Regions from separate parts of the Homo sapiens genome. Here region 1 is linked to region 2. Evidence: promoter capture Hi-C in 16 types of primary human blood cells and fetal thymus (Javierre and others, 2016). All regions are on one chromosome and are shown on one strand. Each heading gives the region's core, a stretch centred on a gene start or on the middle of the fragment in contact. The rest is flanking DNA. Distances are from core to core; before and after follow the strand shown.

Evidence for each region. The method cuts DNA at HindIII sites, captures the fragments that hold promoters and counts their contacts. A CHiCAGO score of 5 or more calls a contact.
Region 1: a contact is called between a fragment that was not itself captured here and the fragment with the promoter of FMR1-AS1 in region 2, in 4 of 17 cell types (total CD4 T cells, neutrophils, total B cells and 1 more). The highest score is 6.6, in total CD4 T cells.

What each region holds. Positions count from the first base shown.
Region 1 is chrX:149,606,239-149,611,962 of GRCh38, forward strand. TMEM185A (transmembrane protein 185A) reads right to left here. Exons shown (of 7, transcript NM_032508.4): 2 at 5,049-5,225; 3 at 2,389-2,596. Among named protein-coding and RNA genes, the nearest start is that of HSFX2, 14 kb to the left of the region's middle. The HindIII fragment of the contact is 1,155 bases long and covers 1,599-2,753 here.
Region 2 is chrX:147,908,471-147,914,283 of GRCh38, forward strand. It overlaps FMR1-AS1 (FMR1 antisense RNA 1), which reads right to left and starts at 3,347. Exons shown (of 2, transcript NR_024503.3): 1 at 3,172-3,347; 2 at 961-2,525. It overlaps FMR1 (fragile X messenger ribonucleoprotein 1), which reads left to right and starts at 3,449. Exons shown (of 17, transcript NM_002024.6): 1 at 3,449-3,760. The coding sequence starts at 3,710. RefSeq lists enhancers at 2,980-3,189, 3,770-3,869 and a silencer at 3,270-3,609. The HindIII fragment of the contact is 5,224 bases long and covers 632-5,813 here.

The DNA.
Region 1 (5,724 bases), core at 926-3,425, 1.7 Mb after region 2:
TTTTTTGTTTTCACAGCAACTGCTGAAAACCCAGCTTCTTAAAGATACGACGTCACTGAAAGGAATGCAGTGTGGCCTAAAAATAAACCTGTAAACTATTTCAAGCTAGTAGTTTGTATGGTGTCCCAACAAATGTCAGGTATTACTGTTTTCCTCAAAATGTCCACTATCCCCTGGTGCCCTGTGAGTGCACTGGGGTGCCTGGGGCACTTCAGCACATGCTCTGTGGGCTGAGGACGTGGCCCCTATTTGCCCCAATCCCTCTGTAGAGGCTCCCTCTCTTCTCAACTCCCACAGTTCCTTCCTTTCCACCTTGTGCTCCCGTCGGATCTGAATCGCCACAGTCCACTCAGCTGATGGAGTGTTTCCTGCCTCTAGGCTTCAATGTGTCCCAAAAATGCCATCCCTTCCCTCCCAACACAGGGCTTCCTGGCAGACCCTCAACTCCTCCTTCCCATCTCTGTATGAGCCTACTCCAGACCACCCCCTCACCAACATAGGTACTGTTCTTGCATCACAGGAGGAGGGAGCTCAGCTCCTGGTATGTTGTTTCTTCCAAGGGCAGGAATGCCTAGAGTGTGAATATATGAAAGACTTACTTTCTGTAATTCAGGCCCAATGCAGTCCTAGTCCTTGTATAGTTGTCCCTCAGTATCTGTGGGGGATTGGTTCCAGGACCCCCTGTGGATACCAAAATCCATGGATGCTCAAGTCCCTGATATAAACTGGGAATTGTAGGGAGGGTGAAAGTGGACCATCAGATACTCTCCCTCCACGGCTCACTCCTACCTACCACTATACCCATGCTGTGGCCTTTCCACCAGCATGAAAATCAGGGAATAGCTCCCCTTGTTCAAGGCCAAACCCTTCCTGGTGCTCTAGGTCCCATTCTCCCTGAGTCCCACAGGGCCTTGCTCCATCACCGTCCCTCTGTCTACATACCTTCCCCTCACGCCCATACCTGGGGTCTAGGCTTATATGCCTGACCCACCCTACAGCTGCTATGTTTACTTCCTAAGCCAACTGCAGTCTTCTCCCTTCACTCTTCATCCACACGGCTCAAAACCAGGCATCTACAGCCTCTAGTTCTCCCCTCAACCCATCAGTATTCAGCTTTGGGCCCTCAGCTTCTATGCAGTTATGTAGTTATGTGCCCGGGCTTTAGAGTCGGGCTGACTCAAACGGAATCCTGGTCCTGCCCCTTCACATGTGGCCATGAACAAATGACTTATCTTCTCTGGACCTACCTCACAGAGTTAGTTAGTAAGAAAACTACCACATGTAATGTGCCTCGCACAATGCCTGGCACACAGTAAGTGCTCAATAAACGTTATCTGCAATTACTTTCATTACTATTATTACTAGTCCTGGTATTTTATTCATCTGCATATCCTCTATGCTTAGGGAAAAAGGGCTTGGCATCTAGTAAATACTTGATAAATGTTTATTGAATGAATAAACAAACACAGGGGCACATCAGGATAAGCTAACCAGACAGCAGGGGAGGTGCTAAATCATGGGGTCTGAGGTGGGGAGATGGTCAGTTTTGAGTGTCAACTTGGCTGGGCTATAGTACCCAGTTATTTAATCAAACACTAAGCTTGCTGTTGCAGTGAAGGTACTGACTTTGAATAAAGGAGACTACCCTCCATAGCATGGGTGGGCCTCATGCAATCAGGTGAAGGCCTTAAAAGCAAAAACTGTGGTTTCCTGGAGAGGAAAAAATTCTGTGCCAGGACTGCAGTGTCAACTCCTCCTAGGTCTCCAGCCTGTTCACCTGCCCTGGAGATTTCAGACTTGCCAGCCCCACAGTAATGTGAGCCAGTTCCTTAACTCTCTTTATACATATATCTGTATCTAACCTATCAGTTCTGTTTCTGTCTGATTGATACAGGATGTGAAGCTGGGAGAAGGCTGATGTCCTGGGTGAAAAGCTAGTGTTCTAAGTGAAGAAAGAAAAATTGTTATTTCCATCATCTTTTGTTGCCTTGTTGTCTCATGATGTAGAGTTGGTAATGATCAAGCTCTTCCTAACAAAGGGTAAGAAATTGACATCTGAATAACTGAGCAAAATATTTTACTTTTGAAAACATTCTTTTTTTTTTTTTTTAAGACGGAGTTTCATTCTGTCACCCAGGCTGGAGTGCAATGGTTCAATCTTGGCTCACTGCAACCTCCGCCTCCTGGGTTCAAGAGATTCTCCCGCCTCAGCCTCCGGAGAAGCTGGGATTACTGGCGCATGCCACCACACCCGGCTAATTTTTGTATTATTAGTAGAGATGGGGTTTCACCATGTTGGCCAGGCTGGTCTCAAACTCCTGACCTCAAGTGATCCACCTGCCTTGACCTCCCAAAGTGGAAAACATTCTTAAATATATGAAATCTCACCTCTAGTGACCTGTCATGTCGAAAGCCCCAAACGCAAGCTGCAACAGACACCGGGGAAACAAAGAACAGCGGCATGAAGACCAGGAGCCAGAAATGGCTTCCTCTCTCGATTCTGTCACAGACCAGAACTTCAAACATCAACAAGAGCAAGTGGATGCCCACTGCAATCAACATGGCTTTAAACTCCACACACGTTTCTCCTTCTGCTCTAAAAAAGGGAGAGAAGAAGAAAACACCCTCAGTTCAGAATCTCCACTATAAGCAAGCAGTTCAGGGCAAATACCAACTTATATTTATACTTTGAATTTTACTTGAAAATTTGACAAAAGCAAAGGGAAATCAGGTAGAAAGCTAACTTAAACCTAAGCTTTGGTAGGCAATCTCTGAAACATCGAAGAACTACTACATAATACAAAATGAACATTACAACCAAACCAGAATTTAATGTTTTAACCGTATAAGGATATTCTCAAAAGTAATAGCCAGTTCTTATTTCCCTGACAATGTACATAAACACTTCTGTTCACATCTTTAAATTCAACAACAAGAGTTACTTCCAAGATTATTCAAGCTGATTTGCTTCTGCTGCTAAAACCAGGCAAATACCCCTTAAGTCTCATGATCCTCATTTTTCAAGAAACCATGTAAACCACCCTTCACACAATATTATAAAAATAACTCTAGTTCTATGAACAAGTGCCAGTTATATTTCAAGATAGTAGTAACTATTGTTAGGTGCTATTTTTAAATGCAAATAAAACGTATAAATGATTTTCATTTTCCTTTCTATTCCATTAAGATAAATTAACACCTGCACATGAAAGAGAAAGAAGAACAAGAGTTAAAACTGTTCTCAAACAAAATCAGTTTAATTAGCTAAGTATCATGCACAATAACCTTAACAGATCTACAATTGAGCAATGGTAAGGCCGCTAATCAGGAAAAGGCTCTATAATGCATCTGAAAGGCCTACAATGTTTATTCAAAATACAGATGAACATTTATGATATACATGTATTGTGGGTGACAAATACACCGGAAGTTAGATCATAGAGAAAATGCTATCAGAGGTTATTCCTGTAGGACCCAACCATGTTCCACTGGTTAATGTTAACATGAGAATGACCACGCCTGTACATTCCTTACATTCAACCCCACATACACAATTCCTTTCCTTGCTCAAAACATCTTAAATAAGACCAACAAAGAGAAGTTTGAATATATTCTAAATATCAATTAGTAGAACCTAAATGTTTATTTAACTTTGCATTCTTTGAGAAGCAATTAATATTAGATATCTGAAAATATCTCATAAAAAAATAAAACACATACAGCCACACAGGTCATCAATCTTTCAAAAAAAATCTAAGAACTCTGAAACAGCTATACATGAATGTCCCTCACCTGCCAAGGCTCTCTGTGTAACTGTTTTACAGTTCTTAGACATGTATGTGATATGTAATTTACACAATCTGAATCATTTTCATATTTAGTAAACAAAAATTTAAAAAGTTGATGTAGTGGCCGGACGTGGTGGCTCACACCTGTAATCCCAGCACTTCAGGAGGCCAAGGCGGGTGGATCACCTGATGTCAGGAGTTCAAAACTAGCCTGGCATGGTGAAACCCTATCTCTACTAAAAATACAAAAAATTAGCTGGGCATGGTGGCAGGTGCCTGTAATCCCAGCTACTCAGGAGGCCGAGGCAGGAGAATCACTTGAACCCGGGATGTGGAGGCTGCAGTGGGCCGAGATCACACCATTGCACTCCAGCCTGGGCAACAAGAGCGAAACTCTGTCTCAAAAAAAAAAAAAAAAAAAAAAAAAAAAAAGGTGCGGTAGTTTCAACTTTACACTTTTCCCACATGAGCAGCTGCCTTCTGGGAATTCCTGTACTCCTCATTTTCCCAGTGGAGGTTCATAATAGCCTCCCAGTCTTAAGTCCCCCTTTTTCCCTTTATGTAGTTACAGTCTCTGTGGCAGAGAAGGGAAAGACTCTCGCAGGTCCCAGCAACAAGCAGGTTGCATGCTGGCGTGAGCCAACTCCCAGGAATTTGGGCCAGCGGAGGCATCCAAGAGCAGGGAGGGCAAGAGTTGGAAACGGTAAAGGGTACCCCTCTCCCCTGCCCCCAAAGGCTCTGCTTTCCTTCTCGGCATCCAATCTTTGACTTTCCTCATTCCCCAGCTGCTGTCTCAGGGACTCATGGTCTCCTGGTCAAGCCACCTCCCCTACACTGCTAATAGTCCTAAAGCTCTGGGACTAGGAGGGTGGGACAAGGGGAGCCCCAGTTCCAAAACTGTATTGGAGAAAGATCTTTCATGACCAAACATAATATGAGTGTCTTTTCCTAAAAACAGGGTGGTTTCATGCTGCTTAGTCTAGTATGGCATACCAGTTCTGTATTTTGGGTGCATTTTGGATTATATAGGCATCTGTGAGCTGGCTGGCAACTTACCCCCAAATGGCACTGCTTTTGTAAGAAAATACATACCAAAGACTAAATTTTCAAAAACACAGAAGAGATCTGTTAGCTTATACTATAGTTCTAAGACCCCAGATAGGTAGAAAATAAAATGGTCCTTACTTCATCAAAAGTGAGAAAAGTCAAGATATTGCTCCCTCATGCTAGAGACCAATGGGTTGTATAAAGCAGTATTACCGATATTGAGGATTTCGTGCCCAGACTCCAGTTCCAACTGAGGCTCCAACAATGACCATTAACTTCCACAGCCATATTGGAGCAAAGACAGCCCAGTAACTCCACTGTATGATGCCATCCAAACGAAGGGCCAGCAGCACAGAGAACAGCAGCAGACAGGCATAGATGAGGAATTTACTAGGAGAAAAGTAAAACGATTAAGAAGGATTCACTTTTACAAATATGTGATACTGAAATGGGGAGTAATAAGAGCCACATTTGTCAGCATGTAAAAGGAGTCACTAACTCAATAATCATTTATTGAAAAGGTCTATGGGGCAGACATAATGTGTTGGGAATAAAAGAAACATAAAGAAGACTAAAATAAGTCTCCTGCTTTCCAAGGCTTCCTCATAGAAGGAAGACCACACAGAAACATATAATACAGCACAATGTTTGTGATGAGAGCTTGGAAGAGGAAATACAGACTGTGTCTGAGGAGGCACTCAGAAGCAGAGATGTGGTGACCCTAGAGCTGGTTCCAGAGGGCAAGTAGGAAGCTGCCAGGCAGGAAAGCAAGTGAGATGAGGAAGTATTCCAGGCAGAAGGAACTAGCTATACCAAGACACAGAGACTGGAAAAGGCTGACATGCTCTGAAAATGGTCAAGTTCTATCACTAACTGATTCTATTTCTAA
Region 2 (5,813 bases), core at 2,097-4,596:
AGACACTGTGGTAGGCACTGGGGACAAGCAGTGAATAAAACAAATGGAAATCTTTGTTCTCACTGAGCTTACACTCTAGTGAGGGGAGAGAGACAGAACCTGTCTGCTATTTTCAAGAAACAACAAAGAAAACATTATGGCTGGAATGAGAAACAATGGCCTTTTCAATAAACAGTGCTGGAATAACTGGACATTCATATGCAAAAAATAATCTAGATACAGACCTTATATCTTTTGAAAAAAATTTACTCAAAATGGATCATAGACCTAAATGCAAAACACAAAACTGTAAAACTTCTGAAAGATAACATAGGAGAAAATCTAGGTGAACTAGATAGATTTCATGCACTGGAATGAAGTGAAGGGGGAAAGTAGAAGGTGAGATAGCGGAGATAACAGAAGTCAGAGTATATAGGGCACTGAAGCCAGAATAAATAATGACTCTGGCTTTTACTCTGAGAGATGTAGGGAGTCACTGGGGGATTGTGAGTGGCAGAGTGACTTGATTGACACCTCAACAGGGTCATTCTGTCTTCTGTGCTGAGAACTGTCAGAGAGGGTACAACAGTGGACAGTGACTGCAGGGATACCAGCGAAGAAGTTGCTGCCATAATGCAGGTAAGAGAATGGAAGCTTGGACTATGGTTTTAGCTGAGCAAATGATCAGAAACAGAGTCTGGATTCTACAATGATTTGCTGATGGATCTGATGTGTGAAAGAGGGTCAAAATGTCTCAGTTTTAGGCTTGAGCAACGAACTGGAAGGCAGGAGCTGCCTGTAACGAGAGACAGGAGAGAAAGAGAGAGAGAGAGAGAGGACTTTGGAAGAGCAGGCTCATGATCAGGCCTGAGCTCAGTGTCTGAATTCAGGTAAGCTATCTTGAAAGGGGAAATATCAAAAGCTAGAGATCAGAGTAAGGCTGAGACTCAGAGTCAAGTGGGGAAGACTAAGTTGCAGTATGTACTGGCAGTGAAGATAAGTATTTATTCATTCATTGAACATACCTTGAAATCAACCACTTTTAATGTGCCAGGGACACAAAGATAGAAAAGACATTTGCCCTGTCTGGAAGGTACTAATAATCCAATAAGGAAAACAGAAATATAAATAAATTATTCTAGTACACTAACCATCATAGTAGAGGTATTCAACATTTGTTGAGTCTCTGCTATATGCCAAGCAGTGTAATGAGGAAGCAGAGGGTATGCACAAAGTTCTACAAGAGCACAAAATAAGTTCTGGCAAAGGTTTGTAAAGACATTCACAAGGGTTTTCACCACAGTATGACTTCAGGGAGTTGGCAGTAACCTAGATGCCCGATCAGTAGGGATATGTATGAATAAAATTTCTGGCATACTCGGTAGCAAACTAGGTGTACACACAGCAATGTGGGTATAGCTCAAAAACAGACTGTTGAGTAAAACAGTGGGAAATAGAGATTTACAGTCCAATACCATCTCTGTAAATGCAAGAGGCATAAACAAAACATTATCTGTGTTAAATTATCAAGGATCTCTATCGAACATATTGCAGCTTGTGTCTAGAAGAATGAGAGTGGGGATCGAGAAAGATGAGGAAAAAATAATATAAACACTATAAAATAATGTAAACAAGGACCCTGTAGGGACTGATATGACAATGTGCTGAAAATTGAGGAGCAAAGTTAACTCTCTGTACCTGAGATAAAATAACTAGCTAATAGGAATCCAGCTGAAAACCTTAAGGTGCAGGGCCTCTATGGGGCCCAGGAAGGATGTGTAGAGACATGAACGGATGAAAGTGCATCACAGGTTCAGGGAACAACACAGGTTGAGTGTGGCTTGTAGTAAAAATGGTTGTGAAGAGTTGACATATTTTTAAGCCCTGGGTAAATTGAACAACAGCTTACACTTGGAGGGGTATAATCATTCTAATCAATGTGTCCCCTTTTACTATAATACATTGGAGTTGCAGCTAATGCTCTGCTCCCATTCAGCCTATGATGAGATTCTCTTTCAGCCCTATTGGGTTCTTGGCCTCATGTGACTACTCCAAAGACCCTAGTCCAAAAGGTCTTTCCTGTTTGCTATGGCCTTGAGGAATGTGGCCCTAGATCCACCGCTTTAAAGCTGGAGTTCCACCAGCAGCAACATCCTCTCATTCTGGGGCACCTGCCTGGGGCAGGTCATCCTGCCTCTGCCAACTCAGTGCTATTAGTTAACTCTCACCTGCCATATTCCAGCTGGAATCATCTCCCCTTCTCCACCCCAGACTAGGTCATGTTCCGCCATCATGGAAGCGCCTATTCTTCATACCCCTTATCACAGCTGCAACTACTCATTTACTTGTCTGACAATTTGATTTATGTCCACCTACTTTGCTAGGTACTAAGTTCAATGCTGGCAGTCGTTTCTTCTTTTTTTTTCTTTTCTGTTTTGCTCACCGATTTCTCGTTAGCACTTAGCACAGTGTCTGGCACACGATAGATGCTCCGTCAACTTCTCAGTTGGATACCAGCATCCCGAAGGGAACATGGATTAAGGCAGCTATAAGCACGGTGTAAAAACAGGAATAAGAAAAAGTTGAGGTTTGTTTCACAGTGGAATGTAAAGGGTTGCAAGGAGGTGCATCGGCCCCTGTGGACAGGACGCATGACTGCTACACACGTGTTCACCCCACCCTCTGGCACAGGGTGCACATACAGTAGGGGCAGAAATGAACCTCAAGTGCTTAACACAATTTTTAAAAAATATATAGTCAAGTGAAAGTATGAAAATGAGTTGAGGAAAGGCGAGTACGTGGGTCAAAGCTGGGTCTGAGGAAAGGCTCACATTTTGAGATCCCGACTCAATCCATGTCCCTTAAAGGGCACAGGGTGTCTCCACAGGGCCGCCCAAAATCTGGTGAGAGAGGGCGTAGACGCCTCACCTTCTGCCTCTACGGGTCACAAAAGCCTGGGTCACCCTGGTTGCCACTGTTCCTAGTTCAAAGTCTTCTTCTGTCTAATCCTTCACCCCTATTCTCGCCTTCCACTCCACCTCCCGCTCAGTCAGACTGCGCTACTTTGAACCGGACCAAACCAAACCAAACCAAACCAAACCAAACCAGACCAGACACCCCCTCCCGCGGAATCCCAGAGAGGCCGAACTGGGATAACCGGATGCATTTGATTTCCCACGCCACTGAGTGCACCTCTGCAGAAATGGGCGTTCTGGCCCTCGCGAGGCAGTGCGACCTGTCACCGCCCTTCAGCCTTCCCGCCCTCCACCAAGCCCGCGCACGCCCGGCCCGCGCGTCTGTCTTTCGACCCGGCACCCCGGCCGGTTCCCAGCAGCGCGCATGCGCGCGCTCCCAGGCCACTTGAAGAGAGAGGGCGGGGCCGAGGGGCTGAGCCCGCGGGGGGAGGGAACAGCGTTGATCACGTGACGTGGTTTCAGTGTTTACACCCGCAGCGGGCCGGGGGTTCGGCCTCAGTCAGGCGCTCAGCTCCGTTTCGGTTTCACTTCCGGTGGAGGGCCGCCTCTGAGCGGGCGGCGGGCCGACGGCGAGCGCGGGCGGCGGCGGTGACGGAGGCGCCGCTGCCAGGGGGCGTGCGGCAGCGCGGCGGCGGCGGCGGCGGCGGCGGCGGCGGAGGCGGCGGCGGCGGCGGCGGCGGCGGCGGCTGGGCCTCGAGCGCCCGCAGCCCACCTCTCGGGGGCGGGCTCCCGGCGCTAGCAGGGCTGAAGAGAAGATGGAGGAGCTGGTGGTGGAAGTGCGGGGCTCCAATGGCGCTTTCTACAAGGTACTTGGCTCTAGGGCAGGCCCCATCTTCGCCCTTCCTTCCCTCCCTTTTCTTCTTGGTGTCGGCGGGAGGCAGGCCCGGGGCCCTCTTCCCGAGCACCGCGCCTGGGTGCCAGGGCACGCTCGGCGGGATGTTGTTGGGAGGGAAGGACTGGACTTGGGGCCTGTTGGAAGCCCCTCTCCGACTCCGAGAGGCCCTAGCGCCTATCGAAATGAGAGACCAGCGAGGAGAGGGTTCTCTTTCGGCGCCGAGCCCCGCCGGGGTGAGCTGGGGATGGGCGAGGGCCGGCGGCAGGTACTAGAGCCGGGCGGGAAGGGCCGAAATCGGCGCTAAGTGACGGCGATGGCTTATTCCCCCTTTCCTAAACATCATCTCCCAGCGGGATCCGGGCCTGTCGTGTGGGTAGTTGTGGAGGAGCGGGGGGCGCTTCAGCCGGGCCGCCTCCTGCAGCGCCAAGAGGGCTTCAGGTCTCCTTTGGCTTCTCTTTTCCGGTCTAGCATTGGGACTTCGGAGAGCTCCACTGTTCTGGGCGAGGGCTGTGAAGAAAGAGTAGTAAGAAGCGGTAGTCGGCACCAAATCACAATGGCAACTGATTTTTAGTGGCTTCTCTTTGTGGATTTCGGAGGAGATTTTAGATCCAAAAGTTTCAGGAAGACCCTAACATGGCCCAGCAGTGCATTGAAGAAGTTGATCATCGTGAATATTCGCGTCCCCCTTTTTGTTAAACGGGGTAAATTCAGGAATGCACATGCTTCAGCGTCTAAAACCATTAGCAGCGCTGCTACTTAAAAATTGTGTGTGTGTGTTTAAGTTTCCAAAGACCTAAATATATGCCATGAAACTTCAGGTAATTAACTGAGAGTATATTATTACTAGGGCATTTTTTTTTTAACTGAGCGAAAATATTTTTGTGCCCCTAAGAACTTGACCACATTTCCTTTGAATTTGTGGTGTTGCAGTGGACTGAATTGTTGAGGCTTTATATAGGCATTCATGGGTTTACTGTGCTTTTTAAAGTTACACCATTGCAGATCAACTAACACCTTTCAGTTTTAAAAGGAAGATTTACAAATTTGATGTAGCAGTAGTGCGTTTGTTGGTATGTAGGTGCTGTATAAATTCATCTATAAATTCTCATTTCCTTTTGAATGTCTATAACCTCTTTCAATAATATCCCACCTTACTACAGTATTTTGGCAATAGAAGGTGCGTGTGGAAGGAAGGCTGGAAAATAGCTATTAGCAGTGTCCAACACAATTCTTAAATGTATTGTAGAATGGCTTGAATGTTTCAGACAGGACACGTTTGGCTATAGGAAAATAAACAATTGACTTTATTCTGTGTTTACCAATTTTATGAAGACATTTGGAGATCAGTATATTTCATAAATGAGTAAAGTATGTAAACTGTTCCATACTTTGAGCACAAAGATAAAGCCTTTTGCTGTAAAAGGAGGCAAAAGGTAACCCCGCGTTTATGTTCTTAACAGTCTCATGAATATGAAATTGTTTCAGTTGACTCTGCAGTCAAAATTTTAATTTCATTGATTTTATTGATCCATAATTTCTTCTGGTGAGTTTGCGTAGAATCGTTCACGGTCCTAGATTAGTGGTTTTGGTCACTAGATTTCTGGCACTAATAACTATAATACATATACATATATATGTGTGAGTAACGGCTAATGGTTAGGCAAGATTTTGATTGACCTGTGATATAAACTTAGATTGGATGCCACTAAAGTTTGCTTATCACAGAGGGCAAGTAGCACATTATGGCCTTGAAGTACTTATTGTTCTCTTCCAGCAACTTATGATTTGCTCCAGTGATTTTGCTTGCACACTGACTGGAATATAAGAAATGCCTTCTATTTTTGCTATTAATTCCCTCCTTTTTTGTTTTGTTTTGTAACGAAGTTGTTTAACTTGAAGGTGAATGAAGAATAGGTTGGTTGCCCCTTAGTTCCCTGAGGAGAAATGTTAATACTTGAACAAGTGTGTGTCAGACAAATTGCTGTTATGTTTATTTAATTAAGTTTGATTTCTAAGAAAATCTC